3 separate regions of the Homo sapiens genome follow, and regions 2 and 3 are each linked to region 1. Evidence: promoter capture Hi-C in 16 types of primary human blood cells and fetal thymus (Javierre and others, 2016). All regions are on one chromosome and are shown on one strand. Each heading gives the region's core, a stretch centred on a gene start or on the middle of the fragment in contact. The rest is flanking DNA. Distances are from core to core; before and after follow the strand shown. Region 1 holds the start of RGS2 (regulator of G protein signaling 2). Region 2 overlaps LOC107985242 (a long non-coding RNA gene). Region 3 overlaps LOC107985242 (a long non-coding RNA gene).

Region 1 (4,249 bases), core at 1,136-3,635:
TGGTTTGAAAATCTATGTTTATCTGAAATAAAACAAAAAAGTTGTTTATTTGGTATTCAGAGTTAAAGATTAAAATTTAGTATTTGAAAACAAAAAATAAAAATTATGTGTGATTAGCTTTACTAGCTAAGTCACAGGAGAACTTTAACATAACTGAAAGCTACAACGTGGAGGGACTTTTTACCCCTCCTAGCCCGCTTTGTCCTTGATTACTTTGTTTCACTTTTGTGCTAAAGATGTCCAGATTGTGCTGAAATTAGGAACTTGTTTCCTTACCTCTTTTGGAGCTTCCTTTTCTATGAAGTCAGTATATATTTTCCTTGCTTTTGAGGACAGCTTTTGGGGTGATTTGGTTTTTTTGAAGTCTTCACAGGCCAGCCAGAATTCAATATTTTCTTCACAGAATTCCGACTTTAAAAAAGCCCTGAATGCAGCAAGACCATCTGAAGGGGGGAGAAAAGAGAGCATGCAGAATGTGAAGAACTGAGAGACCAAATGATTCCTTATGTTTCTCCTATCCCTCACATTTTAATTATTTCTAAATGAATTTTCTAGATTTCGCTCAAACCTGTAATTCTCAAAATTTAGCTTTTTAAAGACTAAGATACCAGTAGGCAAAAGGCTTATGTTGGCACTCTGCTGCAAAAATATAAGTACTTTGCTGTCAATGCAAAGTAAATATTTATAGGGGAGCCATAAATTCTCTGGGAACTAAGCCTCTTGAAAACATTGTATGCAATGGAAAAACTGACTCAACCTTAACTATAAGCAACTGCCACTTTAATTTGTTTAGGCTGATTTTCTTCCCCACCTGGAGAGAATATATGCATTTATTTGTTAAACCCTGGGAAATAAAGGAAAGAAAAACAGGCTTTATCCTATAGTGACTGCAGTCTAATCCCCCTCAGGCAAGCTGCTCTTTTGTTAGGTGGACGCAGCCTTTCCAGGCTTTTGCGATGTTAGCAATGGCTCAAGCTCAAGAGTTAACTTACATTTGCTGGCTAGCAGCTCGTCAAATGCTTCTGACCACAGCTGTGCTTCCTCAGGAGAAGGCCTGCAAGAGAGGTTCTGTATGTTAGCTTACGCACATCAGAGTTCCCCTTTTCAGTTCAGCAGCTAACTATTGATATTTGCAAGCACAGGATTCTCAACTTACTTGATGAAAGCTTGCTGTTTGCTTTTTTTGCCGGTTTTGGGCTTCCCAGGAGTAGAGGAATTTTGTAAGAAGTAGCTCAAACGGGTCTTCCAATCTTTTAAACTAAAACAAAAAATTAAAAAGATAATTACTAACTAGCAACACTTGAATATGCTACTGCAGCTGAACGCATTTTTACCAAATAAAGTCACCCAGTAACTAGAGACAAACCGCATAAGGCAAAGCAAGAACTCTTCAAATAAGTCTTATCCACCTAACATTTAAACCTCATGTACTGAGCAGTTTCGTCCATTAATCTGACCGTATCTACTAGTTTTACAACTAAGGGCAGGGCTACCTATAATCACTAGGGTATTTTAAAGAATTGTTAATGAATTTAGTTCAAAAGGCAGACACTATTTCTGGCTCACAAAGGGCATCAGTTTGTTTGCAAGGTTAATTACAATTCCGAGACGTTTTGCACTTTAATGAAAAGGACAGACATGGAACTGTCTGGAGCCGGCCCACGCTTCTCTCTTTAGAGCAGGAGGTTCTGGACCACGCCAGAGACTGTACAAAGAGGTGGGTGACTGATTCCCCTGCGCTCTTCCTTCCCCACCTACGACACTTCTTTTAAGCAGACGCTGCATAACAATTATTTGTTCCACATTCGGACTGGGTGAGATCTGCTCTATAATTAAAAAACAAAAATGGATTTTAAACGAGTATATTCAGAACCAGCAAGAGCATCACCTTCCAGTAGCTGTGTAAGCTGATGAGAACTCATCATGCAACGTATGAATGCTGGGGACGCGCTTCAGCCGCAGGATTCTGATGTCATTTTGAATGCAGGAGGACAAAAAGCCAACCCGCAATTTCTTAGCGCATCAACCACCGCCCTCATATCAACTGTCTCCCTCGGTTCTTAAACTGTACCCGAGCATCACCCAGATTTAACCTTACTTAACAAATTGACCTTTTCGATTTTTTTTCCCTGCATAGGCTCAGGCTAGTTTCCTAACGTCAAAGGCGAGCCCGAAAGTACCGCGTTTGCAGCTTGCAGTGTGGGGCAGGGGGTGGCGGGAGAGGGAAGAAAGCCATACTCACAGGGTCCGTTTCATCTTTTCTCGCTTCTCCTCGCTCTTGTGGCCACTGCCTGCGCTCTTGTCCATGGGTCTGCAGTCGTGTTGAACAGCCAAGAACATAGCACTTTGCATTATCGTTCTCCCGCTGGAGCCCCGGCTGTTTGCGGCTGGGCGTGCGTCGCAGCATTTATGAGGCCTCGGCTTGGGGGCGGGGCCTCGCGGCTCCGGCCCCGCCTCAAGAGGACGCGGATTGGTCGGCTGCAGACTGGCACGGGGATGGGTCAGCGCCCGCCGGCGGCAGTCACGGCTGCTGCCGAAGGGTCTCGAAGCCGGGGCGCTGCTGACGTCTGCGGCCCCGGCTTCTTGCGCACTCGGGCCACATAGCAGCGGCCAGCTGGGGCAGGTGTGGGAGCAGATGGAGAGTCTTCAGTGTGGGCCGCTGCGCACGACCTTTTGCTGAAGCGTGGCGGCCGGGCGGGCTCGAGGGCTTTGCGACGGAGGGAGGGAGCCGAAGTTGGCGGCGGCCCGGCGGGGGCGCCGGCGCTCCCTCACCCACCCTGACGGGCTCCCCAGCCCGAGGCCAGAGCGGCGATTCCCTGGCAGGAGGAGGTCGCCCGCCACGAGGCCGGAGTGCAGTGGCCTGATTTCGAATGAAGAGTGGGATTTTTCTTCCTTTTTTGAGCGCGTTCCCTGACCCCGCGCCTCATTTCTTGTTTGCTGTCCTGCTGTAGGACTCATTCGACACCCCCTGGTCTGTGAACTGAGGCAATGGGGAGACCCTCGCCCGTTTCTCTCTGCCACTTAACTTAAGGAAGGAGTAACCTGAAACGTTGATTGCCCAGGGGCAGGGTGGGATCTGCTCTGCAGCTTGCTGGGGCGTCTTGGAACACTTTGAGAATGAACATTAGGGATTGAACAAGAGAAAGTGACTTTATCAGAAGACAGTGCTTTAATTGGGTTTGCATTTTTGATCACTACTAGGCACGTGGCTGGGTCTGTCTATAGGGTCATTCCTCAGGAGTCCTTGGTCACATCTCCTGCCAAAATAGAAATCACAGATTTCCTTATGGTGGGAGAGAAAGCTGCAGACATAGAGATTTCATAGCTGTAATGCACCAGAATCAGTGAGTTCAAGGAGTCAGGATTTCCTCATGAGTCATTCTTGTTGAGTTAGGATTTACCAGAACATTTAATAACTGGCAAAAAGTAGGGGGGAGAATGAGTTAACAGTTTCCTTGATTAAGTTTTATTTGTTAATTCTTCAAGTATCATCTCTACTCCTGAAGGTTTTAAAACGACTTGATTGGTAAAGACAAATAGATTACCTCAACCACAAAATGAGTTGATTTCGGATAATATTACCAGAACTAGCCAGTGAAATGTTTAAGCGGCTTTGCAACCAAGCTGCAGATATTCTCTCTACTTTGTATTCGACTTCTTAAAAGGAAATTGGAAATAATTAATATATTCTTACGGTGAGCTGCCAGTAGTTGGAGCTCCAAGTTTGACTTGGAGGGCAAAACCTGCAGTTATTATTTAAGACAACAGTTGTGGACTTTATTGTGGAAAGGAAAATCGTGTAGATTTCAGTAATAGATACTTTGAAACATGCTTGTTAACTCTAGGAATGCCATTTTTTCTTAAGCATATGCTCTTCCTCTCCTATGCTTTGCATAATAGTCCTACATCTATTTTCACTTTCTGATGACTCAATACGTATTTATCAGCTGTCTGTAATACGCAGACACTTGCTTTTTCTCACCACTGTAAACCTCAATATATTTTATACTTAGAACCTTAGATGTTAGAATTTACTCATAGACAGTTAAATTCGCTGGCAGGCCAGGAGTTCTGACAAAGAGGCAGCAGAGAGAGAGAGCTGGACTTCTGTCAGGAGACCCAGTTAGAGCCTGGGCTTATCCAGTAAATGCTAAGTAACTGTTGGGACACTAGCTTCACACCTCTTTGAGTCCCAGTTTCTCATCTGTAATAAGAGTAACATGTATTTTCTTGCCAGCCTCATAGGATA
Region 2 (4,548 bases), core at 496-2,995, 1.5 Mb before region 1:
TGCTGAGATTACAGGCATGAGCCACCGCGCCTGGCCTCTATAGAATTCTTTATTGGTAAGTGTTATTTAGTTTTTCAGCCCTTGAAAAAAAATCAAACCGTGTTTTTTTTATCATTTATGTTAACAGGCCAGTTATTAATCTCATTATTGTTTTTTGAAGAAATTTAACTGTTTGCAAGAGACTGCATTTTGTCTTTCTAAAATTCATATGTTGATGCCTTAAGCTTCTATGTTATTATACTTAGAGATAGGTCTTTAGAAGGTAATTAGGCTAAATAGGGTTAGATGGGTGAGGCCCTAATTCCGTAGGACTGTGGCCTCATAAGAAGAAAAACGAAGAGCTGTTTCTCCCCTTCTTTCTCACTCTCTCCTTTCTCTTTCTTGTTCTCTCTTTCTCTCACTCTCTGTCTCTGTCATATAAGGCAAAAAGGCAGCCACCTGGAAGCCAGGAAAAGAGTTCTTACCAGGACCCAAATTGTCCAGCACCTTTGTCTCGGATTTCCTTACCCACAAGAACTGAGAACATAAATTTCTGTTGTTGAGCTACCCAGTCTATGTGTTTTGTTATGGCAGTCACAACGAATTACTACAGTGGTTTTATTTTTATTTAAAAAATTTTTCTTTCCAACCTTTATTGTAGGTGCAGAGGGTACATGGGCAGGTTTGTCACATAGATAAATTGTGTGTTGTGGGGGTTTGGTGTACAGATTATTTGGTCACCCAGTTAATGAGCATAGTACCCTGTAGGTAGTTTTTTGATGTCTCCCTTCTCCCACCCTCCACCTTCAAGAAGGGCCTGGTGTCTATTGTTCCCTTCTTTGTGTTCAAATGTGTTCAATGTTTACCTCCAATTATAAGTAAGAACATGTGACATTTGGTTTTCTATTCCTGTGTTTCATATTTTCTTCATCCAGTCCACTGTTGATGGGCATCTAGGTTGATTCCATGTCTTTGTTATTGCGAATAGTGCCATGATGAATACACACATTCATATGTCTTTATGGTAGAATGATTTCTATTCCTCTGGGTATATACCCAGAAATGGGATTGCTCGGTTGGATGGTAGTTCTGTTTTAAGTTCTTTGAGAAACCTCGAAAATGCTTTCCACGGTGACTGAACTAATTTACATTCTCACCAGCGCTGTATAAGCATTACCTTTTCTCCAAAACCTTGCCAACATCTGTTAATTTTTGACTTTTTAATAATAGCCATTCTGACTGGTGTGAGATGGTATCTCATTGTGGTTTTGATTTGCATTTCTCTAGTGATTAGTGATATTGAACATTTTTTTTTTTTTACATGCGTGCTGGCTACGTGTATGTCTTCTCTTGAGAAGTGTCCATTCACATTTTTTGCCCATTTTTTAATGGTTTTTTTTTATTGTTAAATTGTTTAAGTTCTTTATGGATTCTGGATAGTAGGCCCTTGTCAGATGCATAGTTTGCAAATATTTTCTTCCATTTCATAGGTCATCTCTTTACTCTGTTAAAAGTTTCCTTTGCTGTGCAGAAGCTCTTCAGTTTAATTAAGTCCCACTTGTTAATTTTTGTTTTTGTTGCAATTGCTTTTGGAGTCTTTATAACAAAATATTTCCCAGTGCCTATTTCCAGAATGGTATTTCCTAGTTATTTCCAGGTTTTTATAGTTCTGGCTTTTACATTTAAATCTCTAATCCATTTCGAATTGATTTTAGTTTATGATAAAAGGAAAAGGTCCAGTTTCAATCTTTTGCTTATGGCTAGAAAGTTATGCAAGCACTATTTATTGACTAGCGATTCCTTTCCCTGTTGCTTGTTTCTGTCAAATATCAGATGGTTGTAGGTGTGTGGCTTTATTTCTAGGCTCTCCACCATGATCCATTTGTCTATGTGTCTATTTTTGTACCAGTACTATGCTGTTTTGATTACTGTAGCCTTGTTGTATAGCTTGAAGTTGGGTAGTGTGATGCCTCTGGCTTTGTACTGTTTGCATACGATTGCTTTGGCTATTCAGGCTTTTTTTTTTTTTTTTGGTTCCATACGAATTTTAGAATAGTTTCTTCTAATTCTATGAAAACATCATTGGTAGTTTGATAGGAATAGCATTGAATCAGATGGTGGTTATAAATTTTCTCTTTCTATTCAACATTTTAGATACTTTACTATAATGTGTTATGTGTTATTATATACTATAGATTATATGTTTATATTATATATAGATATATAATATCTATATGATATTGATATATATATCATATATAGTTTTTGCGTGTATATATATTTATGGAAGGCCTGACTTTATATATATATATCTATATATATCTCCATAAATCTGTGACTTCATATCAGTAATCAGTTTTTGGAAATCGTTAGCTATTACTTATTCAAATAATTATCCTGTCTAATTTTTTTTCATTTCTAATGGGACTGCATTTGCACATATATTAGACCTATTCATGGTATCTCTGTTCTTTCTGTATTCTCTCTAAATATTTTCATTTGTTTTACTGTTCAGATCTCCAATCTTGTCTTTTGCTGTTTCTCATGTGTTTTTCAGTACAGCCCTTTAATTCTTAATTTTACATATAGCATATTTTCTATTCTTTTAATTTTCTCATAACTCATTTTATAAAGTTCAGTTCTCTGACGAAAAATTCCAATTCATCTTTATTTGGTTGAAAATATTAATTAATCTCATATTATAATTTAGGTCTCAAATCCTCATAACCTATTACTCCTCTGAAACTATTTCTTTGTTTCTTTTCTAATCTTTGTTATTATCATCATGATCACCATAATTAGCACCACCATTTATTTTTGCCCATTGCTATGACATGTAATTTTTTTTTTTTTTTTTTTTTTTTTTTGAGACGGAGTCTCGCCCTTTTGCCCAGGCCCGAGTGCAGTGGCGCTATCTCGGCTCACTGCAAGCTCCGCCTCCTGGGTTCACACCATTCTCCTGCCTCAGCCTCCCAAGTAGCTGGGACTATAGGCGCCTGGCTAATTTTTTGTATTTTTAGTAGAGACGGGGTTTCACCGTGTTAGCCAGGATGGTCTAGATCTCCTGACCTTGTGATCTGCCCGCCTCGGCCTCCCAAAGTGCTGGGATTACAGGGGTGAGCCACCGCGCGTGGCCTATGACATGTAATTTTTTAAATGGAATTGTGCAGAAAAAAAATTAGAAATATTTTAACACATTGGCTTGTCTTTATAGAGTTTTTCTTTCGTTTTTCACAGGTAGTTAAATTTGGGCCATACCACCTTAATCCAATATGAAATTAAGCTTATTTGAAACTGATTACAAATCATTATGAGATCTGGTCTACATCTTACTTGATTTTGTCTTCATGCAACTGGAAGACTAGTGTATTCATAAAAATTGTTCCACCTCTGCAAGCCCTGAACTGTAATCCATACTTCCATAGTCTTGGTAAATTGCTCATAGCTATCTTCAGTTTCCAGACTCTAGAATTCAGTATAGGTTATTGGAAATTACCATAATTCAGTTAGTGATTGAGCTAATACTTGGTGGGATTTCAATGTTTGTGACAGCTAGTCAGTTCCTAAGTTACTGTTTTTTTAAGAGTATATTCCTTCAGGCCTCACAAATAAAAGGCTAAAGTATTTGTGTGCTCCTCCCCGTCAGGCTTACATTCAATTTATTTTATCCCACCTCTGGGAGATTAAAAAAATATATTTGTTCAACTTCTTGAATTCCATACCACCGTATGTGGATTGTCGTATCCCCAGATGGAAGAATCACACATAGGAAATCCACATTCACCTCTTTGCTTCTCCTCTGTCCAGGATCTTGTTCCTACAGGACTTGAAAGCTTTAAAGTGACTAATAAAAAGAAGTTACTCAAATTTTCTAGCCTTTGGTTGGAAGATTTAACTGAGACAAGCTAATATGCTTTTCCTGGAAATATTCTGTGGTTTATATTCAAAGATTCATTCTTTTGTTTCAATTATGCATATTATTTTAAGCATATCATGATCACTGAAAGTCACACCAAAATTCTTTACATCTTTTAATTTTTGTTTTGCAGCACAATTTTTGTATTGTACTATGTAGCACCAAGAAAGTGTATAATTTTCATATGTTAGCCACAGGTGAAAAACAAATTCTGCTTGGAGTGGAAATATTTTATTTTTCCAATTAACTTTTAACCTAACAAACACCATAGTATTAAAAATACGTTCAGTTTTCTTAAGAAGCAAAACCTACACAGCATAATTAACTCATGGGACTTTCTAAAGTTACAAGGCCAGAGTTGGGCATATTTAATGCTATCAATTAATTATCTAGAGAATAGTGGATATCCAGTAACTCACTCCGTGCTTGGTAAACATTGAGAAGCAAGCAACTTATTTGTTATAATGTCATTGGTTATTCTTGAGAATACATTTCCGAATTATATATGAAAGCTAATGGGTAATATGATTATTTAATACAATTTGTTTTATGAAAAACAATTCCTTAACAAAAGTCATAGTAAATGACAGCAAATGAATGAAACATTAACTATTTGTTAATCTCCTTGCTTCCCCTTTGCATGCGTAATTACT
Region 3 (4,572 bases), core at 2,070-4,569, 1.5 Mb before region 1:
TCTAAGTACGTATGTTATACTAAGAATGATGTTAGTATTGAGATACAATGACAAAGAGTTAAAATCTCTTCCAGAAGTGGGGAAATATAGCATGCAAGCAATCATTTACAATGCAGTATTATAAATTCAATAATACCACTAGGCAGGAGATCATCTGGTAGCATAGAGGACAGAGTTCCTATCTTTGTTAGCGTTATGGAGAGCTCAAGGGAGCTCACAATGGCTTCATGTATGAACTCCTGACATTTTAAACTCTTTGCCATACATAAATTCTTCTGAGGAACTCGATAATTCTAAAGACCTTTGTAAATATTACATCAGTCATCTTTAGTATATGAATCTTGCATAGCTGCTGAAAGAGCAATTCAATTGATGAGGGAAGATGGGTAAATAAAACATTGGAAATCCTTGGTATCTATAAGTTGATTAAAAAATGGCAAAAAGATACAGGACCAAGAATTCTATAGTTTGATAATCTGGAGTTTATATTTACATTTTATATTGCATTATAAACATAAAATGCTGATGGAAAGAAATTTAAGCAGATTCGTAGATCACATAAGGACAAATACTTGATGATGCAGTAAGGAATTTTGCCCTCCTTCCAATTGTACTGTTATAGAAAACTTTAACAATGATTCATTTCTTCCCTTCATTCAAAGCACAGTAATGGGCAGCAATTTTGAGTAAAGATTTCTCCAGGTGCTAGGCATACAGAAATTAGTACATCATTGTCCTTGTCCTCAAATGTGTTACATCACTTTGGGAATGACAAATGCATAAGCAATTTATGGCATTTTGATTTGATGAGTATGAGCTCATGTATAAAATGTCATATTATATCTATATTGTATTGTAAAAATATTGTATTCCCTTCAGTATCAGTATAATAATAAATGAGATAGTGTAAATAAAACTTTGTACAGTCCGTGTTAAAAGAAGATACTTATGGTTGGTATTAGAGATGAGTACAAGACTCTAGCTTGTATAGAGGAGGGTGACTTGGCATGGGAGCACAGTAAGATAAAACTGAATGCCATATGATGAGTCTCTTCCAAATCTTTCCAGTCGTCTTTCATTTATCTCTTGCTCTCATACTTTATTTCCAATCAGCTAGTACATTTTCTTGCTTCTACCTTCAATTTCTGACCATGTCTTACCATTTTCCTACTACCCACTTTTTCTACACTGAGCCAACATCATCTTTCACCTGGATTATTGATACACCTGCACTTGTCCCCGTAATGTCTGTTTTCCATTCAGCAGCCAGAAAAATACAATTAAAACATAAATAAGTTCATGAAACCTCTCTTTACCAAACCGTCACATTGGTTCACTGCTTTTCCAGAGCAAATGGAAAAGTCCCTACAATAAACGACCAGGCTATATGTGATATATGTGATTTGCATCTTTTTCCTTTATATATATATATATATATAAAAAATATAAAATTTATACATGTATATATAATATATAATATATATTTATATATGTATAAATATATAATACATAAAAATATATTCATATATGTACAAATATATAATACATAAAAATATATTCATATATGTACAAATATATAATACATAAAAATATATTATATTTATATATGTACAAATGTATAATACATAAGAATATATTTATATATGTACAAATGTATAATACATAAGAATATATTTATATATGTACAAATGTATAATACATAAGAATATATTTATATATGTACAAATGTATAATACATAAGAATATATTTATATATGTACAAATGTATAATACATAAGAATATATTTATATATGTACAAATATATAATACATAAGAATATATTTATATATGTACAAATATATAATATATAAGAATATGTTTATATATGTACAAATATATAATATATAAGAATATGTTTATATATGTATAAATATATATACATTTACTTGTATATTGTTTTCTCATACTGAAATATAAACTCCATGAAAGAAAGGACTTTTGTCTATATTGTTTGCTGCTGTGTTACCAGAACTTAAAAATAGTTCCTATCACATAGTGCTCAATAAATTTTTGAATGAATAAATGATATTAAAGAATGAATAGGCATTTATCAATTGTGTAAGAGAGAAAGAAAAAACATCCTAAGCAAGAAGCTGGCATATAAAAGTCAAAGAAATCCCTGAAGATGGTACTGTAAGAATATATGCATATTAGAGAACAGAAGCAGATGTGGTTGGAGAGATAGACAGGGGACATGGCTTCCTGCATCATTTACATACTGGGCCAAGTCTAAGGTTTTTTTTTTTTTTTTCATTTCTGAGCCAGGAAAATTGTGATAAAAACACAATAATATATATTTTCTGTTTTTAAATGGCTATCCTCTAGCCCTTGCCAATGGCTTACCTACATGCTCGTATTATCTTGTTAATTTGAAAAGGAAAAGTTAAGCAGACACTTTATAAGCTTCTTATCAAGAAACACAATAGTAAGTCAATAGCACACCTTCTGGGTATGTTGCATGTGAAGAGACAGTAAATTAAGAACTATATTCCATATTCAGATATTTTTTGAGGTTTATTGCTTCTTCAGTGTTAGAACATTTTAATTGGTTTCTTTTAACTTTGAAAAATATACTCTAGAGATAAATTCATTTATAATAAAGGTCACTACCTAACATTAAAAGGCAGTATTTCCATTAACATTTTATGTGCTGGTATATTTAACAACAGTGAAAAGACACTTTAAGGAAGCCTCCTCTTGTTTTAAAAGGTCAATACACAAAATGTATTTTAAAAATTCTATATTAATAGACCACATTCTATAATTCAAAATTATTTAAAAACTATTAGAAACAGAAAATAACCAAATAATTTACCAATATACAAAATAAAACATTGACGTACTAAATAATATTCAAACAGTGAGGTTCTTTTTGATTCAACTTATGGTTTTATCAACAATGGGGAGAATTAAAAGGGTAGATAATGCCTATATGGGCAAAGCGAAACTTTGAGCAATTGTATAATAAACTTGGTAAATTAGTTTTGGCTATATAATCCTATGTTTAAAATACCGGATTTCTTTCTGTCTCCTCTTGCTTTTCCTCAAGAGCATCATATTCATTGATAAGAGAAGAACTTGTTCTAATTTCTGTTCTGCCATTCCTGGTTGTGCAGACCTGGGCTAGTTACAAGAGTTGGTTTGAGGGCAAAATCAGATAATGCATGCAGAAGTTCTGACACATTTTAAGTGTTAATTAAATATTAGCCTTTCTCTCTAATTTTAGTATCTTCTTCTACTCTTCACTCCCTCAAACTGCTGTTTCTCAAGGACTCCCTTATGGATAGGAAAGCGATACAGTTATTAACCCACTACATAACCTCTGGTATGGCTTCATGTTTAAATGAATATTTATTGATTAATATAGAGAGAGTTATGATAATAATAACTCATTAAGTACTTAATATTTGGCAGACACTAGCCTTCATGTTTTCTTATATAAATTTGTTTTATTTTCTTGGTAACTCCTTGAATAGATGCAATCATTATCTTGTTATGATATAGAAGGTAACTGAAGCATAGAACAAGTACTGCGTTTTTTTTTTTTATAGTAACAGAACCTTTAAGTGGGAGAACAGAATTTAAATACATAAAACTTGGCCCTGTATTCTGTTCTCTTGGGCACTGCTCTAGGTTTAGGGAGAAAGAGGGATACCATTTGCAGAACCCATATTTTCAGTGTGTTTGAGAAATAAGGTATTCAGATATGCTTATTTAACCATAAGGCCATCATTGTTCATCCTAATAATACAACTCATATTGTTGCTGAAATATTTTACATAAATGTCTAGCATTATATTTAGTCTGTGGTTTTGCAGACCCTATGATTTCTCAAATCAGGAGATCTCCAGTGACAGTTTTGTTACATGTTAGAGTGAATTTAAAGTGTTTTGATTATGTTTTATTTATTTTTTGAGGCAGAAATACTGTTGAATGAGAGGGGAGACTTCATATTTGCTTTGCATAGAAAAAATAAACATTTTATTTCTTTTTTCAGTTTTTTTTTGTGGGGGTTGAGAGTGGTTCTGTTTTCCAAATATTTTCATATATCCTCCATAGAACTTTAAATGATGTTTCACATGGTGTACAGGCTCAACAATATCTCCTGACAGGCAAGAATAGGAATAAAATAGTGAAGAATCCTTTCTAAGCTTGTATTCTGGGTAGTGAGACTTTGAATAATGAGGCCAAGGCAGCAATTTTCATCTCTATGTGGCCTCTTAGGCTCTGCTCTGCCGTAGTGTCATGAGCAGCAAGCTTATACTCTAAAGAATGAAGTGTGCTGCCATACCCGAAGGCAAAGCCCATCTGCTTGTTCTATTTTTCTTCTCATGCTCAGCCAAGTTCTAGAGAATAATAGTCCTGGGCTACAGGAAAGCATTCAGCTACCACAGCTTCCTAAACTAAAATTTCTGACATATGGCTCATGATAGGAAATGTTCAAATAAATAAGCTTAGGTCTAGGTGCTGTTCTGGATCCAGTCCCTAAGATTGAACTGCCATTTGGAGTAGAGATCTATTTACAAGTACGA

What was found. Contacts are between HindIII fragments. The CHiCAGO score rates a contact against its expected background, and 5 or more counts as called.
Region 2: a fragment that was not itself captured here is called in contact with the fragment with the promoter of RGS2 in region 1 in 2 of 17 cell types (total B cells and naive B cells); the score reaches 9.5 in total B cells.
Region 3: a fragment that was not itself captured here is called in contact with the fragment with the promoter of RGS2 in region 1 in 2 of 17 cell types (total CD4 T cells and naive CD8 T cells); the score reaches 5.7 in total CD4 T cells.

Annotation. Positions count from the first base shown.
Region 1 is chr1:192,807,175-192,811,423 of GRCh38, reverse strand. RGS2 (regulator of G protein signaling 2) reads right to left here and starts at 2,385. Exons shown (of 5, transcript NM_002923.4): 1 at 2,243-2,385; 2 at 1,157-1,258; 3 at 993-1,054; 4 at 277-443; 5 at 1-22. The coding sequence starts at 2,352. RefSeq lists silencers at 1,132-1,191, 2,699-2,908, 3,845-3,934 and an enhancer at 2,149-2,368. The HindIII fragment of the contact is 4,593 bases long and covers 1,169-4,249 here.
Region 2 is chr1:194,274,770-194,279,317 of GRCh38, reverse strand. All of the region lies in intron 2 of LOC107985242 (a long non-coding RNA gene), which reads left to right. Among named protein-coding and RNA genes, the nearest start is that of LINC01031, 970 kb to the right of the region's middle. The HindIII fragment of the contact is 3,038 bases long and covers 227-3,264 here.
Region 3 is chr1:194,300,849-194,305,420 of GRCh38, reverse strand. All of the region lies in intron 2 of LOC107985242 (a long non-coding RNA gene), which reads left to right. Among named protein-coding and RNA genes, the nearest start is that of LINC01031, 1.0 Mb to the right of the region's middle. The HindIII fragment of the contact is 1,748 bases long and covers 2,446-4,193 here.